Regions from separate parts of the Homo sapiens genome. Here regions 1, 2, 3, 4, 6 and 7 are each linked to region 5. The links are contacts of gene promoters, found by promoter capture Hi-C in blood cells and fetal thymus (Javierre and others, 2016). All regions are on one chromosome and are shown on one strand. The core of a region is centred on a gene start or on the middle of the fragment in contact, and the rest is flanking DNA. Distances in the headings are between cores, read along the strand shown. Region 1 has its middle 13 kb from the start of LINC03001. Region 2 overlaps BAG2 (BAG cochaperone 2). Region 3 overlaps DST (dystonin). Region 4 has its middle 17 kb from the start of LINC03001. Region 5 holds the start of KIAA1586. Region 6 has its middle 7.4 kb from the start of RAB23. Region 7 overlaps DST (dystonin).

Region 1 (3,436 bases), core at 434-2,933, 230 kb before region 5:
TTTGTTGTATTTTTTTAGTAGAGATGGGGTTTCACCATGTTAGCCAGGATGGTCTCGATCTCCTGACCTTGTGATCCACCCGCCTTGGCCTCCCAAATTGCTGGGATTACAGGCATGAAGCCACCGCGCCTGGCCAGAATCTTTAATCTATGCTAATGAACTGACACTGATTCTGAATTCACATCGTGGTTCTCTGAAATCAACTCATTTTCCAAGCAGAAGCAGGCTCCAACACTCCCTACCACCCCCCGGCTTCTGCTGTGTTCCCAAGGTACTCTGCTTGCCTCCAACACATTTAACTTTAAATGGGTAACTGCATATAAGGCTTTTCCCACTGCATTGTAAGTTCCTTGAAGACAGGGACTCATTCCATCTCCCCAGCATCCAGCATTATTTGACATATATGAAGTGTTCAATATATATTTGTAGAGTAAATAAATCTCTGTCCTTCCCTGAATGCCTAGCTAGGAAGTTCACACAAACAGGCTAGATACAGAATTTGCCTGCCAGACACCTAAGCTCATGAGGGCAGATTTTGGGCTGATTTGTTCACTGCTGTGTCCTAGAACAGTGCAGAGCACATAAATATACATTGAAGGAATGGATGGACCTGCCCCTTTTGAAAGGATACCTTCCCATCCCATGTCATCTGATTTTCCCAGCAAACACACTCTCTGACCTCAGGAATGCCTCTCAGCATTCCCTCTTCTTGTACTGAGTCTCTCTGATGGTAACTTCTTGCCCAAAACAACACACCCACTGGAACTCACAGGCCTGCTGGTTCCTATTCTTTGTCCTTCCAAGGTGGTCTTCTCCTTCTTCCTCTTCTCCTCTTCCTCTTCCTCCTCTCCTTTTTCTTATTCTCCCCCATGCTTCTTTGACTTATTTGAGACACGCAAAAAAAAAATCTTACATTTCATATATCATTATATCTTTTTTTTTTTGAGGCAGGGTCTCAGTTGGTCACCCAGGCTGGAGTGCAGTGGCGCAACCCTGGTTCATGGCAGCCTCGACCTCCTGGGCTCAAGCCATTCTCCCACCTGAGCCCCCCAAATACATGCATGCACCACCACGCCCAGCTAATTTTTTTCTATTTTCTTTTTTTAGAGATGGGTTTCACCATGTTGCTCAGGCTGGTCTCAAACTTCTGAGCACAAGCAATCTGCCTGTTTTGGCCTCCCAAATATATCATTACATCTTAATGATCATTTCTTCATCTACCATTCAGCTTACAAATTAAGATGGTACCATTAAAATTGAAGCTCCTATATATGTCTTTCCACCCATGCTTTTCCCTTACTAAAAGTAACCACTACCTTTTCTTTTTTACTATTATATATGTATTTACATACATACATATGTATGCATGTATATATATATATATATGTAAATGGTATTGTTTTATAATTTTTAACTTTTGTTTTTGGTTTATTTTATTTTATTTGAGACAGTCTCACTCTGTTGCCCAGGCTGGAGTACAGTGGCATGATCTCAGCTCACTGCAACCCTCTGCATCCCGGGTTCACACAATTCTCATGCCTCCGCCTCCCAAGTAGCTGGGATTACAGACGTGAGCCACCACACCCAGCTAATTTTTGTGTTTTTAGTAGAGACTGGGTTTCACTATGTTGGCCAGGCTGGTCTTGAACTCCCAACCTCAGCTGATCCACCCACCTTGGCCTCCCAAAGTGCTGGGATTACAGGTGTGAGCCACTGCGCCTGGCCCAGTTTTTAACTTTTTATTAGTTATATAATATTCTAGCATGCTACTGCTACTTGCTTATTTTCTTTCTTTGTTCAGTTCTATATTTTGGAGATTTATCCATGTGGAAACATGGAGCTCCAGTTCCTTCCTCGTCACTGCTATACAATATTTCACTGTATAAAATATGACAACTGATTAATTCATTTTGCTACTAATTGATGTATAGATAGTTTTGCATTTTTGCTATTATGAACACCACTGCTATGGACGTTTCTGTTACCCGTTTGGTGGGATTGAAGGAGTTCCAGTTGGCCCACTGGGAGAAAGTCCAATTCTACTTTTTCATGAGGACTCCAACAGAGCCAGCACTCTCCAGCCACTGTAGGCCCAAGAACTCAATGGCTCAGGAGACGACAGCTGTGTTAGGCTGGCAATGAAAGTGGAGGAAATGCATTTAAGTTGCTTCCTTCCAGAAATTCTGTTTAAAGTCTTGACTTAAAGATGACACGAAATTGTCCTGTTATGTTTCTCTAGCAGCCTGGCAGTCCAAGTGTAAGGCTGAAGAAAGCAAATATTTGGATTCATTCAGTAGTAACTGTCCAGTAATAACATAATCTACTTTTATTTGTTTGTTTTTTTGAAACAGAGTCTCACTCTGTTGCCCAGGCTGGAGTGCAATGGCACGATCTTGGCTCACTGCAACCTCTGCCTCCTGGGTTCAAGTGATTCTCATGCCTCAGCTTCCTGAGTAGCTGGGATTACAGGTGTGCTCCACCACGCCTCGCTAATTTGTTTTGTATTTTTAGTAGAGACAGGGTTTCACTCCTGGCCTCATTTGATTCACCCACCTTGGCCTCCCAAGGTGCTGGGATTACAGGCCTGAGCCAATGCACCCAACCACATAGTCTACTTTTAACTCTAGTCTTGCTTGCTTACCTTGAAAATTGGTATTTCGTCTGCTTGCATTTTTTTGCACTGTTTTTGACAGAATTTTTGATCTACATCTTATCCATTCTGAGATGATATTGAAAGACATCACATGTATAAATGTGGGAGGAGGGGCTGGGCGCAGTGGCTCACGCCTATAATCCAAGGCAGGTGGATCACGAGATCAGGAGATTGAGACCATCCTGGCTAGCGTGGTGAAACCCCGTCTCTCCTAGAAATACAAAAAAAAAAAAAAATTAGCCAGGTGTTGAGGCACGTGCCTGTAGTCCCAGCTACTCAGGAGGCTGAGGCAGGGGAATCACTTGAACCTGGGAGACAGAGGTTGCAGTGACCCGAGATCACACCACTGCACTCCAGCCTGGGCAATAGAGGAAGACTCTGTCTCAAAATAAATAAACAGAGGGAGGAGCCAAGACGGCTGAATAGGAAAAGCTCCAGTCTACAGCTCCCAGCGTGAGTGATGCAGAAGATAGGTGATTTCTGCATTTCCAACTGAAGTATCAGGTTCATCTCACTGGGGTGTGCCAGACAGTGAGTGGGTGCAGGACAGTGGGTGCAGCGCACCGTGCACGAGCCAAAGCAGGGCGAGGCTTCGCATCACCCGGGAAGCGCAAAGGGTCAGGGAATTCCCTTTCCTAGTCAAAGAAAGGGGTGACAGACAGCACCTGGAAAATCGGGTCACTCCCACCCAAATACTGTGCTTTCCCAATGGGTTTAAAAAACGGTACACCAGGAGATTATGTCCCACACCTGGCTCAGAGGGTCCTATGCCCACGGAGTCTT
Region 2 (3,640 bases), core at 45-2,544, 140 kb before region 5:
TAAATGAAATGCCTAAATATATTGTTACAGATTTTAATACTGTGGATCAAGGAAAGATAGCAAGCATTCTTTTCCTGAAATTGGTCATGTAGCTTTTCTGCGAAATAGTATTGAATCTGAATACTTTCACAAAATAATACTGAAAGGTAAACCCTAAATCTTGCCAGACTGCATTAGTATTTTGGCATTGAAACTTGTGCAATATCTGTGTAATGTAGAATGTGGGGTGTGCATGCAGATGTCTGGTACTGGAGTAAGCTGAAGGTATGTGCAGTATTTAAGAAAATGTACATTCTAATTAATTCACTTATAAAACCATTTACATATTGTGTATATGTTTTTATTTTCAAATGATAAACTCTAGACATATATTTTGCAAAATGAGCTTGGGTTTAAAAAGTGCTTTGTGCCAAAAATATCATACCTAATTTTTATAGTGCTTTACTATCAGAATTTATATTGTTTATTATATCTTTTAAAAGCAGTAAGCAGTTTTCATCTGACAGCGTAGATAAAAGAGGAGTATAGGAATTTGAATGCTAGAGCATCTCCCAGGTGAGCCTTATTGCAGATCTTTTTGATATAGTCACCCATAAGCATGGTGAGCTCCTGCTCTCATAAGGTCAGCCAAAGCCCCTTAAGAAGGTACACAGCACATCTGCAGTCATTCAGGAGGTCCTGTGAAGTGTGGTGATGCATCTAACACCTTTTGCTGCTCACTGAGAACCCAGCTTTGAACTTACAAGATTACACTAACCATTTTTAAAGTGCACAAAAATATTATTATTAGTCTTAACTAAAATTACATATTTTATAATGCCCTGCAACTCTAAACCATCCTTTTGTTTACACATTTTTGTATGGTATTTTAAGATTATCAATCACTTCAACATTTCTATAACCTTGTTTGTATAGCACTTTCTCAAGAGCTGTCAGTCCCACATACAGAATCATTTCTTTTACAAAATGATTTAATATGTAATCATGTGTCAGGACATAAATTTTGTCACTTGGGACAGTAGCTTTCCAGCTAAGATAATTGCGTGAACTCTGTTAAAACTGATTATCACTCATCAATGGCTTTATTTTTAACCTATAAATAACCCCTTTCAATATACCTGGTTTTTACAGCATTGCAAAATCTGTAAAAATAACTTTTATTGGAAAATGTCATGAAGTCATTTTTCATTATTTGTACTAAACAATGTTTTATGTACTCCTTTTGTGTTTTATCTTTTGTTTTTCCATCTGTACTCCCCTCATCCTCCTAATGTTGAGAAAATCAAATTTCCTGGGTGTGTCCTTGTTAAGTGATCAAAAGTAAATGTTCTCTTTGCCATTTTAGATGGAAAAATAAAAAAAATTAAAAAGTAAATTTTTGCTTTTCATTATATTGAAATGATCTGGCATTATCTATTTCACAGTAATGTAAAATGCTTATTTTTATGTCACCAGTTGTCACCACTCCCATTGCTGATAGTGACATAGGTTTTGGGGGCAAAATTCAGTTCCTAACAAACAGTGGATACTGCTAATGAGTCATCTTTTCTACTCTCTTCAATTTTCTACTCTCTACTCTCCTCTTTAATTTTTGCACAAAATAATACTTTGCAACAAATAGTCTTTTGTCTTTATTGGCAGAAAAATCACTTGTTATATGTGTTCTAGTTAGTTCTTTTTCATGTTAGCTGTGTGGCTAAAAGCGTGTTACCTTTCTATATTTAAAAAAAGTAATCTCTGAGGATAGTTACAGTTCCTGTAATATAATTTTATGTACCTAGTTTTATCTTTTTTTAAATAAGAACTGAAGAGAGAGCTTTGTTACATATTTGAATTTTTAATTTGCACTGCTGTATTTTAAACCTAACCATAATTAGTCATTTAAAATAATTAAGTAGGCCTGAAAGTCAGCCATGTTAATTTCTCAATTTAATCAATTCTTAAAGCCTTCAAAAATTGACATTTTTTTTCCAAGACCCTTCATTCTCTTAAATAACTTTAATTTTATGAAACCATGTATACTAAAGAAAAACTTTTCCAAGATTCCAGGTGATTGTGCATTTGTGCTCTAATCTACTTTTTTAACATTACGGCTAATCTTTTGCGTAGACATATCGCTGTGGAATAACTGCCATATTTCAGAGTTCCTCAGGTTTCCTTTTCCTTTTCCAGTCTCTGTCTATGAATTAAATAGTATATAGAATGACCCATATAAGGCAATATAGTTAAATAAAACCAGGTTAAATGATTTCCTTTGTATCTGCCCAAAGTTGATAGCACACGTTACTTTTTCAAAATAAAGCTAAAACTACCAAAAAGAGGATGAAAACTTTTTCCTCATTATGGAGTGAAGTTCTAGGTGGTTGCTTTAGAAGTTGGCAGTGCAGTGCTCAGAAGGAACTCTCAATAAATAACATGTACTCCTTGGACCTGTGAGTTTTAGGAAACTGGACCTTTTCTGAAGACCTTAGAATAGGGAGTTGGCCTTAGGACCTAATGTCCCAACTTAGTGTTGGACCCTTTTAATATAAGATATTGTTAATTATTAGCATACTTTTCAAAACCTTTGAAATAGTTACTGCTAACCTGATAAAATGTTCCCATTAATCTATCATTAGTCTGTTTCTCTGAAAACAAAATGCATTGATGAGGTGAAAGCTTGTTCCACATGGCACCTACCTAATGAACAGGACTTACTCAGTTTTTAACTGTTAAGAATGTCACATGTACTATTGTCACTCCTTAGGTTTTCAGCTATAAAACATGTAAGTCTCTCATCATACAGATGAATTCATTTGCTAACAAAATATTTAAAACCCGCAGTAGACTCTGAAATATCCAGTCATCAAACTCCTGGCTAACTGGATGATTTGGCTATAATAATCTTTATTATTATTATTTTCATCTGTCTCTCGAAATATCTACAGTAGGATGTTAGTAAATGGTCTTTTAAAAGCAAAAAATTGGGGATAAAAGGAAAACTGAATTCCTTCTATATTTTTATTACTAATAAATAATGCTTTTGTAAATTTGAATGGAAAACCACTTGTATGTATTGCTATTTGGTTGCAGTTACACTCTGGAGCTTAATTTAAAACACTACTCTAAAAATTTCATGAAGGATGAATTCCAATAATCAGAAAATAAATGCATTTCAAAGCTAAAATTTTGTGTGATATGTATGATTGTATCAACAGTGTGGATCTAAATAGTAAAATATATAATGCAACTTCTTTAAAGATCAAAGCAACCTAAAATTATTTCATATTTCAGATACTCTGCCAATATTTAATACTCTCATTTTATTGAAAGTAGTGCTAACAAGGAATGGCAGGAGGGCTACCCTAAAATTATGTATTATATGCTAGGAATGGTAGAGAATTGAGATACAGCAAAACATACTCTATATCCACTTATAGTCTATATAAAAGACAATAGTTTAAATGAGGGTAAAAATGTGACTCAGGAGATTCATCATCATTTGAAAATAAATTATACTCCCATTCTTATAAATAAAAATACATGTTAAGAACCAACCCATTGGCCAAGCGTGGTGGCTCATGCCTGTAATCCCTGTACTTTGGGAGGCCAAGGCAGGCAGATCACAAGGTCAGGAGTTTGAGACCAGCCTGGCCAATAT
Region 3 (3,465 bases), core at 191-2,690, 130 kb after region 5:
GTCTCCCAAGTAGCTGGGATTACAGGTGCATGCCAAAATGCCTGGCTAATTATTGTATTTTTAGTAGAGATGGGGTTTCACCATATTGGCCAGGCTGCCCTCAAACTCCTGGGCTCAAGTGATATGCCTGCCTTGGCCTCCCAAAGTGCTGGGATTACAGGTGTAAGCCACCTTGCCTGGCCCAAATATATATATCCAAATTTATGTAGGAGTTTAGTAAATAATAAAGATGGGCATTTGGAATCAATAGAGAGGCACTAATGGTTGTTAAAGTTGGGTGATAGGTACTTAGGGTTCTTTTTAAAATCTTTTTATATTTTGGAATTTTCTGTAATAAAAAGTTAACATATTTAGGAAATTAAAAAATGAATACAATAAATTCATTGGAGAAAGGATAGTTAAGTAGATGATGTTACCCACTTGGCAGGAAATAAAATTAGTTGTGTCTCTCACACTATACTTAAAAATTAATTTCAGATGGATTAAAATGTACATATGATTAATTCCAGATGGATTATAAGTGTACATTTACAGGATTTAAAAAAATAGAAGGTATAGGAGAATGTTTTATAATTTTGCAGTTGGGAAAAGCTTTCTAGGACAAACATTTAAAAGTCATAAAGGAAAAGATTGGCAGTTTTGAATAAAAGAATTCTAAACTTATGTACAACAAAATGAAAAGACAGATTGCAACCTAGGCAAAAATACTTGCTGCATATATAGTAAATTATTTTATTCATATTATATAAAAAACTTCTCAAATCAATAAGAAATACATATAAGTTGTACAAAAATGAGCAAAGCATGTGAACAGACAATTCAGAGAAGAAAATAATTCGGAGAAAAAAATGGCTTATAAAAATATAAAAAATAATTTAAAAATTCAGACAATTCAGAGAAAAAAATGGCTTATAAAAATATACAAAGATTTTTAACTTTACTAATAAATAACGCAAATTCAAACTCACTCCGTCACCCAGGCTGGAGTGCAGGAGTGTGCGATCTCAGCTCACTGCAACCTCTGTCGCCCGGGTTAAGCAATTCTCCTGCCTCAGTCTCCCAAGTAGCTGGGATTACAGGTGCATGCCAAAATGCCTTTTGTCCATCACATAGGCAACAGATATAAAGATTTATATTATCCAGTGTTGATGGAGATAATAGAATTAAAAAGGCACTTTCATAGTGTTGCTAGAAATGTAATTTGGTACATTTTTAGAGACAAAGTTGGTACCTGTAGTATCTCTCAAACTTTTTCCTACGGACTGGAAATACCACTTCTAAGTAAAGAAGATTTAGTTGAAGATATTTTGTTTATTCCACTGTTTATACTGGAAAAAAATTAAAATGTCCGAATTCTAGTCAGTAGGAAAATAGTTAAGTATGGTACGTGCATAAACTAGAAAATTATTCAGTTGTAAAAAAGAGGGTGTGGTGGCTCATGCCTGTAATCCCAGCATTTTGGGAGGCTGAGGTGGGTGGATCTCTTGAGGTCGGGAGTTTGGGACTAGCCTGACCAACATGGCGAAACCCTGTCTCTACTAAAAATACAAAAATTAGCTGGAAGTGGTGGCACGTGCCTGTTATCCTAACTACTCAGGAGGTTGAGGCAGGAGAATCACTTGAACCCGGGAGGTGGAGGTTGCAGTGAGCCAAGATCATGCCACCACATTCCAGCTTGGGTGACAAAGCAAGACTCTGTCTCAAAAAAAAAAAGAAAAAAAAAAGAATGTACACCTGAACCTGAAATGTCATAAAAAGAGCAATGTAGAAAACATATATATAAAACAAGATCCCATTTTTGTTGAATTATTTTTATAGGAGAAGTCAAGATGATAGGAACTAACATCACAGTGATTACTCTAGAGGGATGTATTTGAAGATTCAAAACAGGGACATTCACACTTATTTATAGGGTTCAAAAAAGGGTTGCAATTTTAGGTGGATTTAGTTTCTAATTTGTTTTTTTCTGAAATTTTCACACAAGTAGATCTTTAAAAAGGAAAAATCAAACCCAAAGCATATTGAGAGTCTATTTTGTGCCCAAACATAAGTAGGAGCAATGAAGGACACAAAGATGAAAAAGAAGCTGTCCCTCCCCTTCATATCCATGATAAGTCAAACTGTGGTAAGTGCTATTTAAAAAGCCACATTGAAATAAACTTCTTTTAAATCAGTCTACTGGGAAAAGTCAACAGGAATAATATGATTCAGGTTAAAAAGTTCATAGCTCTTGCCTAAATAACTGCAAGAGGGGCAAGAGAAGGTAACAAAAATCTCTTCAAAGCTTTTAGCTACTGATCTGGATTCAGTAACATCATCTTAGGAAAAGGAGTCAATACAAGGTGACTTCTTATGCACAGTTTATGCAGATATCCATGTAATGCATTGTCAAAGACAGAGCAGAAATGAACAGTAAAAAATGCTGTAGCCACCACAAAATGGACTAGCCACAAGCATTTCTCACAAACCTTTGATTAACCATCTTTGTTTAAAACCTGCTCCTGTTGGCTTTCCCTTCTGCTTTTTCTCTGTCTTTACTCAGCATAAATTATCAGAAGATTTTAGGTCATGAAAATATTTTTTCTCCTTTCTTGCTAAGTGTGTCTTCAGAGTAAGCAGATTTTTGAGAGAGAATGTGCTGCCAGAAAAAGCATTTAAGACTTGAACACAGACCAAATACACATTTGATCTATGCAAGGGCAAAGGTTCAGCCCCCAGACAGTGGGCAGGAGTGGTCAGTCCTTTCTGCTGTGTGTATCCTCAGTGGGCTATTGCTGTTTCTGAGAAATACCTGGTCCGAGCAGTGTGTGTTAGGAGCCTCTGCCTGTCTTTTTTTTTTTTTTTTTTTTTTTTTTTTTTAGCATGCCTGGGGCTTGATGGCGAGTCTTGGCAAGCATCCATTTCATGGGGGCCCAGTGAATGCTGCTTCCCTACCTTAGTAATGTAGCTCACCTTTGGGACTTGAAATCCTGCCTGGAACTCCAGCCCAAAAGCCTGAATAGCTTTTCTCTCTCTGTCTCTCTGTGTGTGTGTGTGTGTGTGTGTGTGTGTGTGTGTGTGTGTGTGTGAGAGAGAGAGAGAGAGAGAGAGAGATAGAGAGAGAGAGAAGATCTTGTCTCAGGGCTGGAGTACAGTGGCCCCATCATGGCTTACTACAGCTCGACCCCCCAGGCTCAGGAGATCCCCCCACCTCAGCCTCCCAGATAGCTGGGGCTACAGGTGTGCGCCACCATACCCAGCTAATTTTTTGTATTTTTGGTAGAGACAGGGTCTCACTATGTTGCCCAGGCTAGTCTCGAACTCCTGGGCTCAAGCGATCTGCTCGCCTTGGCCTCCCAAAGTGCTGGGATTACAGGCATGAACCACTGCACCCAGGTCTTGAATAGCTTTTGTTAAGTTCGGGCACTGGCAGGAGTGATGCTCAAAATATTTAACAACCAGTAGAAAGTGGGCACTGAGCAGTCA
Region 4 (3,352 bases), core at 4-2,503, 200 kb before region 5:
GATCATTAGTACCTGATCCAATTATTTTTTGGCTAAATTCAAAATTCTAAAGCAAACATTGAATTATATGCTATATTAACTAATATACTGTACTCAGTGTCTTGATTTTTTTTAGTCTCATTATTCTTTCTGGATTTCAGAATGAAACTCATGCTCACCCACTAGTCAGGGCTACAAATGTATCCAGAATGACAGTTTATTTTTAAAAGCCCAAATAGTAGGATTCCCTTCTAGGGGAAATCCTTTGAGTCATACAGAAATTAGTTGCCAAAGGTTTCTAGGCCATATCAAAAGGAAACCTCAAGATTCTTTAAATTATTACTTGAAAATTTTTAGTGTCCAAAATGACAACCTAAGATAGGATTTTGATAGTCCCATGAAACACCTCCTCACACAGAGCAACCACATAGAGAACATTTGCATCTCTTCTGCAGCAGCTATAAATGAGAATTTATACTATTACAGCAGTTTTTGCTATTTCTCATGGGTGCCTTTGACATTTACCTAGTGCTCAAAATACACCAAAAATAATTTTGCTCTGAATAAGCCTCAACTATAACTCTGTAATTTATTTCATAATACTTTTTAATCTTCCTTCAAAGCTTACTCATTGATGGATAATTATTAAGCACTTTACAAATTCCCAAAATTATGTGTGGTATAAAAACAGAGCCTTGAAATTTGACAAGCCCTAAAACTCATCACAATCTATCTAGGCCCGAGAAATGATGAATAATCATATACAACTCAGTCAATGTCACCCCTAGATGTTATGGCAATGAAGGAGGGCTAGCCTGAAAGGGATAAACCTAGTTGCCCAGCCACGTAGGAAAGACGATGGATACTCTAGGTGCAGGCAATCAAGAAATCAAGTCCAGGCCGGGCGCGGTGTGGCTCACGCCTGTAATCCTAGCACTTTGGAAGGCCAAGGCGGGCGGATCACGAGGTCAGGAGATCAAGACCATCCTGGCTAACACGGTGAAACCCCGTCTCTACTAAAAATACAAAAAATTAGCCGGGCATGGTGGTGGGTACCTGTAGTCCCAGCTACTCGGGAGGCTGAGGCAGGAGAATAGCGTGAACCCAGGAGGCGGAGCTTGCAGTGAGCTGAGATCGCGCCACCGCACTCTAGCCTGGGCGACAGAGTGAGACTCCGTCTCAAAAAAAAAAAAAAAGAAATTAAGTCCAGGGAGATCATCTGGTACAGGAAGGAGCACATGAGTACTCTATGGGCAGATGCAGAAACTGGCAGGTGAGAGAATCAGCAGGCAGCAGAAATGGTTATCTTGATAGACATCTGCCCAGCTCTCCTTGCAACGGTGGGCTGGCTGCCCCTCCCTGTTCGAGCTGGTTGGTTATCACAGTGTTCTCTCTTCTCTCACCATTCCCCATTCACCTGAGTACAGGCATGGATTTATTAAACAGGCTTAGTAAGTTATAGTACCTACACCCTGATTAGTGCATTGGGGGTAACTGTGCGCTCTGGGGTTTTGAATTGTTGCAACACCATCCTGTCTTTCACTCCTGCTCCTCCCCCATCACCGATAGGACGGCGTATCTCCTGGAGATTGGAGAGGAGCTATTGGTAAGAGTTGGGCCAAAACAAAACTGAGCCAAACTGAAGCACTTCTCCAGCTGTATTTCACTAACATCTTAGGAAACTTATATACTAGCGTAGGTAGAATAGTATTCTTTCTAGTTTCATAGCCATTTTCTGTTGGCCTCTGGGAGTTTTTCACTTCAAATGTAAGTAGTTATACAGGAACAAAGAGAGTTGATACCTTTGAAACATAGACCAAGGAAACATAATATCTTCTCCCCCGTAAATGGGCTGCAGAACAAGTAACACAGGTTTCTATAACACATTTTGTTAACAATTAAATAAGTTACAGGAAGGAAGCTTAGAATAAGAGAAAATAAAATAGTAATTTATAAGGAACTGGAGTTTTTTACAGTGTTGAGATATATGATTTGTAGATATGTGGATAAATGGATGGATAGAGATGCATGTGATACAATAAGTGTGCAAGCACAAAAATAATAGTCTGTTGGCACAAAATCAGAATTAGATTTGTATGTTTTCTATGACTAGAGTGACACCAATCAACTAATCTTTCTCAATAATTTTAAAGCTGTAACTTTATATTAAAAATTCATTGTGCTGCCATTTATAATCAGGTAATCCAAGTGCACTCTCATGCCCCAAACCCCATCCCCTGCACTATCCCAAGACCACTCCCTCCACCTCCATATTCTGGCATCAGAACCTTTACATCTGCAGGCACTCCTGATCTGATAATTATGTTCTTACTGAGCTATTGTTTGATCCCTTCCTTTCCAGAGAAGAGGAAGTATTTCTGAGTGGAAGCAGTTACACCAGACCAGGAGCTTAGACTATCAAAATGCTATCTTAGGTTGTGCTCTAAGAGATGGAGAAAGAGAATCTAGGCTCAAAATCTACAAAACTGAAACCTGAAAGAGGGAAGACAGCAAGGCCTAAGTGGATGAAAGGTGGACATGAGTTGCAGTTCCCTGAGCTAACTTGGCAATTTGGTTACCAAACCTCACACAAAGGCTACCTTGCGAGTTTACTGGCACCTCCAGTGATGGCAAATATAACTAACCCATAAAGCATGTAAGAGGTAGGCAGGTGATGCATCATGGGTGTATGAGCTTCATGCACAGCCTTGCACTCAGAAAGACCTACACTATCTTGGAATAATTAACAATTTTATCTTTGATCTTGTGTTTTTAGCTTAATATGATAGGACGATGGAGCATGCTCAACAGCAGCATGGAAGTCATCAAGCAACCCGGCATCCTGGTGACCTGGCCTGGTAACATGCCTTGGGACCATCCTGGGCACCATAGGGCTCCAAGGTGGGTAGGCCTGCACCTAAGCCTAGACTGGTGGGGGCAAATGCAGCAGCAGAAACAGTGGAGAGAGGAAGGCCTCAATGTAGGGCAGTGCTGGGACTCGTGGAGGAAGGGCAGTTCTTCCCTGCCGGGAGCCATCCCTGCAGCCTGTACCTGAGGCATCTGCACACATATCAACTAACTCACTGACCTGAGCAGAGTGAGAGGAGCTGCCTATGCTCAGGAAGTGACTTAGCAAACGTGTTCCATAATTAATACGAAATAAAAGCATAGAGACATGGCAATAAAACGTTTCAGGGAGTTTTTAGAATTCCTCAAGGAGTTCAGAAACTTTGGTTTTGAAAACTGCTGCAGTGTTGCAGGGCAAATACCCACAGGCATGAAAACAGAAATTAAGCAATTTTTTTTTTTTTTGAGATGGAGTTTCGCTCTTATCACCCAGGCTGGGCTCACCTCAACCCCTGCCACTCGGGTT
Region 5 (3,509 bases), core at 977-3,476:
TATTCCTCAGGATATTACACAAATCTATACCTATTTACTTTTCCAAACTTAATTTTGTACATCCCATCTGTGTTTCTCAACGGCACATGGATCATGAATCAGACGTATGTCACTTCTACATACTTTCTCAATGGCACATGGATCATCAATCAGACGTGTGTCACTTCTACATACAGATGCACAAAAAACTCATCAAGATCATCTGTCCCAATCATTCCTGTTTTTATACCAGTTAAGAGGAAACCAAAATTATTTTTCCTAAAGACCCATGAACTCCTCTTCCCAAATGTTTCTCGTTACAAAAACAGAAACCATTGCTCTTTGATTTCAAGTTACGTTGCTTACTCCATAACAACAGTGAAGGCAGAGTCAGCATACAATCTCCCTTGGTATCATCAATATTTAGAAAGGTTCCAAATGTCAGGAACAAAATATACACACACTATTAATTGGGAAATATGTCCAGAAAGTGACAGGGTAAAGAACTTATACACAAAACACGAAAAACAAACAACGATGTTAACAAAACAATGTTTAGGGAGGAAATTTTAATTTAAAAAACAAGTGACTTACAAAGTCGCCCTAAACCTACAAAAACTAAAAAACACAGAAACATTAGACAGACACTCCATTAAAGAAAAATTCTACAGCCTGAATACCAAACTGCAACTAACTACGGCATTCCAAAAGACGAGTTGGGGACAGAACTGTTTTCTGCCTGGCGAGCTGAGATACCACTTTACGCAAAGCCTTTCTAAAACTCCAACAATTATGGATGAAAATCACCCCAAAATATATCATAAAACACTCCCTTCTGCTTTAGAAACCCATTCTGTCCAAAGTGTGCTCAGAAATCCTTATGTCCCTGCACTTGTCTGAAAATGAAGATTCCTAGGCCCCCGCCTGGAAATTCTGATTCGGTAGGTCTGCAGTGGGGCCCAGGAATCTGCCTGTTTATACTTACTAAGGCTTGAAAACTACTGTCTCAAAGGGAACAAACTCAGAAAAATAGAGCATGTTCCCAGTGATGTAGGATTCTTCATTATGAGCATCAACTGTACTATGCCGTAACATGATGATCTCAGAGGTTAGAGAAATCTTCAAGCTATTTGCCTTCATGTTAGAAGCACCATAACGCTAAGATTCTGGGCTCTCACAACCCTTCCTGTTTTCTACGTCCTTGCTCATCATTAGCAGCTCCTTCCTCCGTGTCGCCTTTAGAAGTTACTCTTGCTCCATTTCAAAACAGCGTTTTAGACACCAGCGTTTTTATCTTAAGTTTAAATGAAAGGCAGGGGGCGAGATTAAGTGTACAGCACGTTCTTTAGGACGTGCTCTTTGTGATGGCTACGGGGGTGGCTCAGATAGCTCTTTTGGTAAATTTCCCAATCCTGCGCCATGCTCCAGTGTCTAGTATGTATTAGACACTCATGAACATTAAATGACCAGGTGAGGTAACATTACATAATGGCCCACCATAGTCTTTTACTCTGGGAAAACCCCAATCATCATTGCTACTTACACTGACAAACTGAATGTCGTCTTCATTTTCATCCGTTGTTGACTCAGATGCCTCAGGGCCAGCTGGAGGGACAGATTCTATTATCTATAAAAACAAGCCAAAACATGCTTATCTGTTCAGCCACATTCGTGTAGGAAGAGAGCGTTTCCGAAAGGAACAATTAAAGACAGAGAGCTCTTGAGGAAAACGAACTGAGCACAATTTCACGGAAACCCGACTAGGAACGGAACTCGAGCTCTGGCTCTTGCCACAGAGTGTGCGGAGCTGCAGGGACCCAACGCTGAAAACGCGTTAGTTACCAGCCTCTCACAATTCCCCTTATCTACTCCAGGAGGAACGCAAGCTCAACACCGAAGGGCAATCCTGCCTTAAAACGTCGCTCCCACTGGCCCAGCCGCGGCCACAACGAACGCCAGGGCCCGTGCGGGGGGCCGGGCGGCCATTGTTGCTGCGGGTTCCTCGCTCAGACACGCACCAGGCCCCAGAGCTGGGCTCGGCCCAAGACACTGAAGAGGTATCGCCCCGAGGCTGCGACGGAGCACCAGGCCTCAGACCGCAGAAAACACAAACCCTTCGCGGTTCGCCTCTGAGAACGCCAGGACCCTCACTCGACTACTCACTTCCGACCCCGGGTCTCCCATGTCTCCGACGGCCGCGCTGACAGCACCACTGCTCCTGCTGTCCCTACTGCCGCAGCCGCCACCACTCCCCTTCCCGCCCTGCACCGCCTCGCGCTACCGGGACCCGCCCCTGCGTGAGCTGGGAGGCCACTGGCGGAAAGAGACGAAAACCGCTTCAAAAGAGGGGCAGCCCTCACTGGTCCGCTATCTCCCCGGAGCCTCTTTCTCTCATTCCCGGGCTTCCTTCCCCGCGCCGCAGAGGATGCTGGGATGGTAGTTCCTACCCGCCGCGCGACCGCGCCGCGCGACTGCCCCGCGCGTGGGTGAAGAATGGAAAAAGACTCTGAGCTACAGCGAAGTCGTCTCCCTTCGGTGTTGCTCTACTATAATAAAATAGCCGAGTTCTTTCTCTCACTTTTTCACAACCAAATATTCGTCTATGTAATAGATCAATGGGAATGAAAAAAAATTGTGTGTGATTTGCTCAGAAATTGCCTTACCAAAATCGTGGCTCACCTTTTTATTTTAACATTTATTCACAAATGATTTTAAACATGAAATTTATGAAAGCAAATTTTAACAGAGAATATTCTTTTAAAGCTTTTATTTGTTTACCTCTATCAGCCTAGGACCACCTGTTATTGACAAGTCTGTAGTCCCAGAAAATCACCTTTATCATTTTGACCCTGATCTACAATGCACAAAATTATACAACAAAGGAGCTATGAGGTATCTGATTAGCCAACTGATCTTCAGCAAAGCAAACAAAAACATAAAGTGGGGAAAGGACACCCTTTTCAACAAATGGTGCTGGGATAATTGGTGACCCACATGTAGAAGAATTAAACTGGATCCTCATCTCTCACCTTATACAAAAATCAACTCAAGATGCATCAAAGACTTAAATCTAAGACCCGAAGTCATAAAAATTGCTCAAGATAACACCGGAAAAATACCTTCTAGACATTGGCTTAGGCAAAGACTTCGCGATGAAGAACCCAAAAGCAAATGCAACAGAAACAAAGATAAATAGACTGAACTTAATTAAACTAAAAAGCTTCTGCACAGCAAAAAAAATAATCAGCAGAGTAAACAGACAACCCACAAAGTGGGAGAAAAGGAGAACATAGGAACAAAGGAAAACATAGACTTACTAGGATTTTAAGGAGTTGGTGAAATTTAAGTGAAGCAGTGTTTTGATAGGTTCAAAACCGTCTAGTGCTGTGTGTAAAGGGTTCAACATCACATACGGACTGCATAGCGAGCCCAGGGTCTTGTTAACTTCAAAACTACAAAGTTAACACACACAGAGTATTGTGCTCAGAAACCCCTTCCTCCGTGTAGCCATGCCCTAAGTGTGTGGATTT
Region 6 (3,848 bases), core at 713-3,212, 180 kb before region 5:
TCAATTTGTCAATCAGACACAAGGAAAATTATATCCTTATTGTTTAATTTGCATTTTCTGAATTGTGAAGATATTAAATATACTCATGTCAATAGGCTATTATCTTTCATTTCAGTATCTGGATGTGAGTGGTTTTTGCCTATTTGTTGCTTATTGACTTGTAAGAGATCTTTGTATATTAAAGAAATTTAGCCCTTTATCTGTCATATATTGAGAGTATTTTTTTCTCAGTTTGTAATTTGTTTTTGCATCATTATTTGTAATTCAAGGTGAGTTTTTGAGATAAGTATTTACCAAGTAGAATAAAGTAATCCCTTTCCCCTCCCTACCACAGGAAGAGAAACCTAACATTGTATTTTTAAAAAGGTCTGAGCTCATTACACCTTCCCTAGGGGAAAAGTAAAAACTTTTTTAAGTATGGTCTTTCCAAGAGGATTAAGTTGGACCATCTCACATATGGATGGAAAAGACAATGTTTCTCAAAGAAAAGTCTCCAGTGGACTTTCTGGAAAGCTTCACTGGATATCCCTGGTTTCTAGGCACTAAATAACAATAGTATACCCTAGTCATTAAGATAACCAAAAAATGTACCTACACATTTCAAATGTCCTCACCATTCTGCTCAAGAGGTGGATCCTTAGGATTGAAAAAATGTAATTAGTTTCCTAGAGACTGATGGAGGTAGCAGGTTCCAAAAACTACAGGTATCTGTGCCTGGCTTTACCAGGAGATACAGTACAGCCTCTGAAGGTGCTTCAGCTTCTCAGTGGTGGAGACATGAACACCAACCTCCATAACCCTGGGAGTTGAGGTAAAAGATACTTATAACCAAACTGGGCACAAAGGATGTAGATTTATTCAAATAGACTCAATGTACATGGGCAATTCACATCACAGTGATGATCACAATTGAGTACCAGGGTCTTTGCCTAAGTTTTCCAAACTGTGCAAGCCTCTGACAAGTCTTGTGCAACTATGGAAAAGAGAAGGAAATCTTTAATTTAAAGACTGACATTGGGTATCTTACGACCCCTGGCAAGTGATGTCTCAGATCAGAATTAATTTGCAATAAAAAATAAAGCAAGACTCCCTGTTCCTGTAACGATGCTAACTGAACTGATATCAACCCTCCCACTAGATATGCACAGCCTTGATAAGCGTAGATAAACATATACACTAAGATAAACTGTAACAACAACAAAAAATACAATAGCCTATGTCAAAACAAAGAAAGGGGAATCCCCAGTGGTCCTGACAGGCCAAGAAAGTGCCCCACCTGAGGACCAAAACAGAAGGTTGAATGCTCCCAAGTGATTGAAGAGATGTCCTGGTCTAGATGAAAGAGAAGGCTGGAAGTGAGACACAGACATAAAAACAAGGCACTAGAATACGCACCAATTCAGTGAAAAGGGAGCTAGAAAAATTTTGTCAAGGAGAACAGGGAAGCGACAAGGAAGATTACCATCCCCCAGGATCCTGAATGGGGAAATGTTTCTGGGAGGAATCAAGGCCCAAAACCTACACCATGGATGGACATGTTTTCTGAATTTATGCTACCTATGTGATGTGGGCATTCCAAGCTGAGAATTTAAATGCTGTTCCCACATCTTTGAACATTCTGAAGCCCTGGCTTTGACAAAAGCAAATATCAAAAGCAGATATCAAGCCATTGTACAGGGGCTAAGCATATAGAAGTCCCATAGAAAAGGCAGCCCTCATGAAGATGACTTCACATTCCTAAATTAAAAACCACCAAAGGAGGCATGAGGGAGAGTCATCGAGTGCAACAAAAAAGAATTGGAAATAATGGAACAATAGCAAAGGGACTAAAATAATTATGTTCAAAAGAATTAAAGCAATGCAGGCCAGGCACAGTGGCTCACACCTGTAATCCCAGCACTTTGGGAGGCCAAGGTGCACGGATCACGAGGTCAGGTATTCGAGATCAGCCTGGCCAACATGGTGAAACCCTGTCTCTACTAAAAATACAAAAATTAGCTGGGCATGGGTGGTGGCATGTGCCTGTAATCCCAGCTACCCGGGAGGCTAAGGCAAGAGAATTGCTTGAACCTGGGAGGCAGAGGCTGTAGTGAGCCAAGATCGCACCACTGCACTCCAGCCTGGGCAACAGAGCGAGATTCAGTCTCAAAAAAAAAAAAATAAATAAAAAAAGAATTAAAGTAATGCAAAAAAAGATTAAAAAGCCTAATGAATACAATAATTTGACTACAGGAGAAAAGAAATTTTAACAAAACAGAGAACATGTGGAAAATTTTAAATGTAGTTCATTGAGATTATAAACTCAGGTAAATTTAAACTGTAGAATAGAAATAGATGGAGAAGAAATTGGTAAACTGGAAGATCGGCCATTTCACATAATAAAGCCAGAAAGATAATGATATGAAAATTATAAGAGGGGTTTAGGATCAGCCTCTCTTAATAGGAGTTCCAGAAAAAGAAAATAGAATGGGTTAGAGGCAATATTTGAAGATATAAGGCTGAGAATTTTGCAGAACTGAAGAAAGACATTATTGAAGTAGCACACTAAATACTGTAGATATAATAAAAACAATCCATACTTGGACACTGCAGAGCAGTAAAGCTGAAGAAAAACTCTAGCAAGGAGGAGAAAAAGATATATCATTGGCAATGCCATTGGCATTTCACCACTTAGAGATGAGTCCGTTTGGAGACATTTCTGTCCCTTCCATTCCCATATAACTAGTAACTTTCAAATACTACTAGTACTTCTACTAACTCTTTTGAGGGCTTACACTCTTCTAAGTGCTTTTACGTATGGTAACTCATTAAATTCCTCTAATAACTCCAGGAAGTACTACTATTATCTCCATTTTACAAGTGAGGAAACTGAGGCGCTGAGAGATTTAAGTAACTTGTCCAAGGTAACACGGCTAGTAAGTGGTACAGCTGGAATTCAAATATAGGGATTCTGGCTCCGAAGCCTGAGTTGTAAGAGCCCAATAACGTTGGCTGGATGACTGTAAGCCATATGCCAGCTCCTGTCTACCTGGGGCCCTCCCATACCCCACAAAGTGCCTGTACCTCATTATCGCACATGTCTCATCTTTAAATCAATTCCCTGCTCTTTCCAACTACTCCCTGCCCTCAATCCATTTCTTTGGTCCCTCAGGTTGATGGCAACTCAATGTTTAAAATAGGTGTTCATGAGGTGTTTCTAGTTATGGGTAAATGAAATGAGAATTCAGCTGCAACAAGGAGACATCTAGTCCTAGGAGGGACTAAATCCATCTGAGAAGCTGCATCTCAACCTGCCTTACACATTTCAAAGGAAGGCACTTTGTGATTTGCAAGTGCATCAAACTATTCAGTCATACCTGATGCACATGGAAGCTCTACAACAATGTTATTTTCATGACCTAGGAAGCTTCATGAAAGTAATGAGTTTATACCACTTCATTACTGAAAAAATCAGCATTAAGACAGAACATTTTTATTTATCACCATCTGAGGCTTCTTTCTGGCTTCTAACTCTAGTTTTGTAGATCTTCTATAAGATATCAAGAAATAAAAACCAAAAACCAGGAGATGCATCAATATTTAAAGTGTTTTATATATTTGTTGAGTAGAAGTGGTTAAAAAATTAAGAATTAGTCCTGGTTGCAAAATAACTTTAAGCACAAAACCTCAATTACTGATTAATGTTGAAAAGATTATATTTAAGAGGTAAAAATATTCTGTCATGAGCATCAAGTATTTGATGCACAAGTATTAGCACAAGTAGAACATTTCCTCACCACTTTTTTGTGACTTAATAATTGTAAATCCAGGGAATGGGCAAGTGGATGAGTTTGAATTCATAACTGCCC
Region 7 (3,700 bases), core at 760-3,259, 160 kb after region 5:
GAGTGCAGTCGCGCAATCACGGCTCACTGCAGCCTCAACCTCTTGGGCTCAACCTTCCCATCTCAGCCTCCTGAGTAGCTTAGACTATAGGCAGGTGCCAGCATGCCTGGCTAATTTTTTTTTTTTTTTTTTTTTTTGAGACGGAGTCTCACTCTGTCGCCCAGGCTGGAGTGCAGTGGCTCAATCTCGGCTCACTGCAAGCTCCACCTCCCGGTTCACGCCATTCTCCTGCCTCAGCCTTCTGGGTAGCTGGGACTACAGGTGCCCGCTACCACGCCTCATGCCTGGCTAATTTTAACTTTTTTTTTGTAGAGGTGGAGTCTGTCTGTGTTGTCCTGGTTGGTCTTGAACTCCTGGGCTCAAGAGAACACCTCGGCCTCCCAAAGTGCTGGGATTATAGGCATGAGCCACCACATCCAGCTGGGAGAGGTCTTCAGGGTGTCTTACTGCATCTCCTGTCAGTTGTCTGAGAGACTGGACGTTGTCAGAGTTGGTAGTGAGAAGGCTGTTGGCTCCTTGTCTCACACAATTCCTGTGCAGGCTTCTAGAACCTTTTGGCCTCTGCCGACATTTCCCTGCTTTTAATGCCATATATGAGCTTGAACTGAGGCTTTGTGTCCTCTTCTGGATTTGGTTAGGTGCAGCCAGTAGTGCCTGCTAGAGCCACCCTATTCAACATGCGTCTAAAGCCTGTGTCTTTTCTAAACGTACACATTTGGAGAAAATCAGTGTTATGACGTGTTGCCATGAAAGCAACTCTGATTATAGCTTGGAGATGGAGTAAAAATAAATCAGTTATGGTGATTCAGGATTACTTGAATGACTTTATATGAAGCACTCAAGGCATTTCTAGTGGCAATCTAAATAAGAAATAGGCCCATGAGTGAGAAAGACTGAAAACAGAAGTAACTGCAAAGGAGATGAGTCAGAAAGCGTGACTGTGCAGTTTTAGCTACTTTCAGTCAGACCATCCTCTTGAAGTGTTATGTGAAATGCAAATACTTTAGCATCCTTAGCTGTTTTAACCTATTTACTTATTCTGGATTTGTAAGCTATATGCAAATATACCTATAAGAATTTGTAATGGGGATCACTAATAAAAACTTAATAATATCTAGATTTTTTATTTTACTCCTTGTTTTAGATGTTTCTAAAAGTGGATAAACTAAAAATTTATCCTGATTTCCTCTCAGTACATATGTATTTGGATTTATACTGTATATTAAGATATGTCACTAGGATGCTTAGGAATTTTTTTTACCATCTTGAAACAGAAAAGATAATTAGATCCAGATCTCCATTTATTCCTTAGTATTTTCACATTACAAAGCATTTTGTTTTGTTTCTGAATCCCAGGATTTTTAAACATCATCATCATCATCATAAGAACTCTTGCATTACTGCATGTTTACCTCATTGACAATACATGGGCATTGTTCTCTGCACTCTTCTCTGTTTTTCTCTCATTTTATCTTCTCAGCGATTCTCTGGAGTCGGTGCTCACTTTCCAGGGAGGAAATGTGTCAAGGTCATACAGCTGGTAGATCATGGAGTTAACATTTAAACCTAGGCACTCTTGGCTTGAGCCGTTTTTGAGTAAGGAATGGAGAACTCCCCATGATTACAATTCTAGTGCTAGACATTTATCCTCATCAGCCTTCCTGAAGTATTTTAATTACTTTGAGTCTCATTTTTCTAACTGCATAGATGGTAGATATGGATGAAATCTTTGTGTTTTTAAACTATTACATCAATTAAAACCTATCTTTAAAATGGTATTGAAAACCATAGGTAAACCTCAAACATCATTTTTGCCATCATTTTATTGGCAAAATTGGCCCCCTCTTTCTGTGGCAGGGCACCTAGGAGGTAGCAAGAAGTAAGCAAGAGTAATTTTGCCCTACTGCCTGCTCACATGAACCTGTTAATGTACAACTTTCAGACCCAAAAAGTATTTATGTGTTTGAGATTGGGGGTGGGTATGGGGAAATAACAGTTTTAGAGCATCAGGAAATAATCAAACATACTGACTCTACTCCTGTTACATTTCACTGATTCCAGTTTTTTGCACACTGCAACAGCATTGCCTGCATTTCCTGGTGACTTAGAATCTTTGAGACTTTCTCACTGAGCTGAAAAAGTATAATTAAAAATTGCTAGTGTTCCCAGGTTATTGCCAAAGCTGCAGCTTGTTCTCCCTGCTGGCAAAATCTTAGCCTCTGAGCACCTGTTTTCTTACTTTTGGGCTCCCACCACCATCAAGCAATGGGATTTTTGAACCTGACAGTTTTGACTGAGGAGTTGGAGGACATATGGGCCTAACACAGGTGATTGGGTGATCCTCTTTTCTGAAATGGTAAGCACAAAGGAAGAAGCAGGTTTGGATTGAGGATTGGAAAGAAAATTTTCTGATTTGGATATGTGAAGTTTGAAATAACTATTAGATATTCTTGTGTCTGGATTTCATGGAAGATGTGAGAATTATTTGTACATAGATGTTATTAAATCTATAAGACTGGGTGGGATGACTCCGAAAATGAATTTGATAGAGAAGAGAAGACACTTGAGGTCTGAGCCTTGGAGTCTGCCAGTGATGAGAGTTTGGGAAGAGGACTGAGGATCGCTTATAACTTCCAACTCTTCACTCAGAAATATAAATGCCTTAAGCAGACATGGGTCTAGGTAGCTCTTGACTTTGATTTAAGGCTATTCATTTTAGGCCAAGAAAAGGCCACTCAGGTAGAGACTAGAGAAAATAGCAGGAAATGAAGTCCCAGATGTACTCATTAGATTTTCCCTTCCCTGAACTCTCCCCAACTAAACCACCACTTCCTTGACCTCACCCTTCTTTTCCTTCTGTTGTGGGTTTCTGTTTTTCAGTCTTGGGGAAATTTTCTGTTTTTCTGATTACAGCTTAGGTTTTTGTAAGGCTGCAGTATATTTTGGAACATTATATAGCTTTAATTTGTAATAATTAAATTAACCAGATTTTGTCATATTTGTAGTTGGGAACTTTTTGGAGTGTAGGAAAGACTTAAGCATATATCCTTGATCTCTTGAAAATATAGCAGGGTGTTTCTGTGTTCCTTTCCTGCTTAGATTATTAAAATGGTCTTCCTTTTCCCTTTCCTTTTCAAATATGTAGGACCAGGCAGCTCTATGTGCATAACCTTAGGATATTTCCCCTTTTGTGGAAGGCATAACTGTACAACTCATACCTTACTTTGGCTAATTAACTAGCAAATCCAAAGCTCTTAGAGGAAACATTTGTTTCCTTTTCCCCTTTGGAATTCTGGAGAATGAATTGATTAATAAAGTCAAATTTCTTTTGCTAATTATCTGAAAAGAATTTTTTTGAATGACACCCATTCAATGTACTGAGTCTTTGCTACATATTGCTGTACCTCCCTTTTTAGGTTCATAATTAATAGAATTTTATAAAAGATTTCATTTATGGCCAGGTGTGGTGGTTCACGTCTGTAATCCCAGCACACTGGGAGGCTGAGGCGGGCGGATCACGAGGTCAAGAGATTGAGACCATCCCAGCCAACATGGTGAAACCCGTCTCTACTAAAAATACAAAACTTAGCTGGGCATGGTGGCACGTGCCTGTAGTCTCAGCTACTTGGGAGGCTGAGGCAGGAGAATCGCTTGAACCCGGGAGGCAGAGGTTGCAGTGAGCCGAGATCGCACTGCTGCA

The links. The method cuts DNA at HindIII sites, captures the fragments that hold promoters and counts their contacts. A CHiCAGO score of 5 or more calls a contact.
Region 1: a fragment that was not itself captured here is called in contact with the fragment with the promoter of KIAA1586 in region 5 in 1 of 17 cell types (total CD4 T cells); the score reaches 5.1 in total CD4 T cells.
Region 2: a contact is called between a fragment that was not itself captured here and the fragment with the promoter of KIAA1586 in region 5, in 7 of 17 cell types (erythroblasts, activated CD4 T cells, naive CD8 T cells and 4 more). The highest score is 9.5, in erythroblasts.
Region 3: a fragment that was not itself captured here is called in contact with the fragment with the promoter of KIAA1586 in region 5 in 2 of 17 cell types (erythroblasts and megakaryocytes); the score reaches 8.9 in erythroblasts.
Region 4: a contact is called between a fragment that was not itself captured here and the fragment with the promoter of KIAA1586 in region 5, in 11 of 17 cell types (activated CD4 T cells, total CD4 T cells, erythroblasts and 8 more). The highest score is 10.7, in activated CD4 T cells.
Region 6: a fragment that was not itself captured here is called in contact with the fragment with the promoter of KIAA1586 in region 5 in 9 of 17 cell types (activated CD4 T cells, non-activated CD4 T cells, total CD8 T cells and 6 more); the score reaches 13.3 in activated CD4 T cells.
Region 7: a fragment that was not itself captured here is called in contact with the fragment with the promoter of KIAA1586 in region 5 in 2 of 17 cell types (erythroblasts and megakaryocytes); the score reaches 10.0 in erythroblasts.

The regions. Positions count from the first base shown.
Region 1 is chr6:57,274,397-57,277,832 of GRCh38, reverse strand. It overlaps a transcript of PRIM2 not described here. Among named protein-coding and RNA genes, the nearest start is that of LINC03001, 13 kb to the right of the region's middle. The HindIII fragment of the contact is 6,529 bases long and covers 1-3,436 here.
Region 2 is chr6:57,186,518-57,190,157 of GRCh38, reverse strand. It overlaps BAG2 (BAG cochaperone 2), which reads right to left. Exons shown (of 3, transcript NM_004282.4): 3 at 325-3,640. It overlaps RAB23 (RAB23, member RAS oncogene family), which reads left to right. Exons shown (of 7, transcript NM_016277.5): 7 at 1-3,166. Among named protein-coding and RNA genes, the nearest start is that of BAG2, 16 kb to the right of the region's middle. The HindIII fragment of the contact is 2,733 bases long and covers 1-2,660 here.
Region 3 is chr6:56,916,382-56,919,846 of GRCh38, reverse strand. The region is part of intron 2 of DST (dystonin); the gene reads left to right. Among named protein-coding and RNA genes, the nearest start is that of DST, 37 kb to the left of the region's middle. The HindIII fragment of the contact is 1,693 bases long and covers 594-2,286 here.
Region 4 is chr6:57,244,681-57,248,032 of GRCh38, reverse strand. It overlaps a transcript of PRIM2 not described here. Among named protein-coding and RNA genes, the nearest start is that of LINC03001, 17 kb to the left of the region's middle. The HindIII fragment of the contact is 1,298 bases long and covers 605-1,902 here.
Region 5 is chr6:57,045,410-57,048,918 of GRCh38, reverse strand. It overlaps KIAA1586, which reads right to left and starts at 2,226. Exons shown (of 4, transcript NM_020931.4): 1 at 2,143-2,226; 2 at 1,523-1,606. The coding sequence starts at 2,163. RefSeq lists enhancers at 761-1,638, 2,455-2,544 and a silencer at 3,174-3,468. The HindIII fragment of the contact is 6,924 bases long and covers 1-2,744 here.
Region 6 is chr6:57,227,805-57,231,652 of GRCh38, reverse strand. It overlaps a transcript of PRIM2 not described here. Among named protein-coding and RNA genes, the nearest start is that of RAB23, 7.4 kb to the right of the region's middle. The HindIII fragment of the contact is 2,893 bases long and covers 516-3,408 here.
Region 7 is chr6:56,888,003-56,891,702 of GRCh38, reverse strand. The region is part of intron 3 of DST (dystonin); the gene reads left to right. Among named protein-coding and RNA genes, the nearest start is that of DST-AS1, 46 kb to the right of the region's middle. RefSeq lists an enhancer at 944-1,003. The HindIII fragment of the contact is 4,927 bases long and covers 1-3,700 here.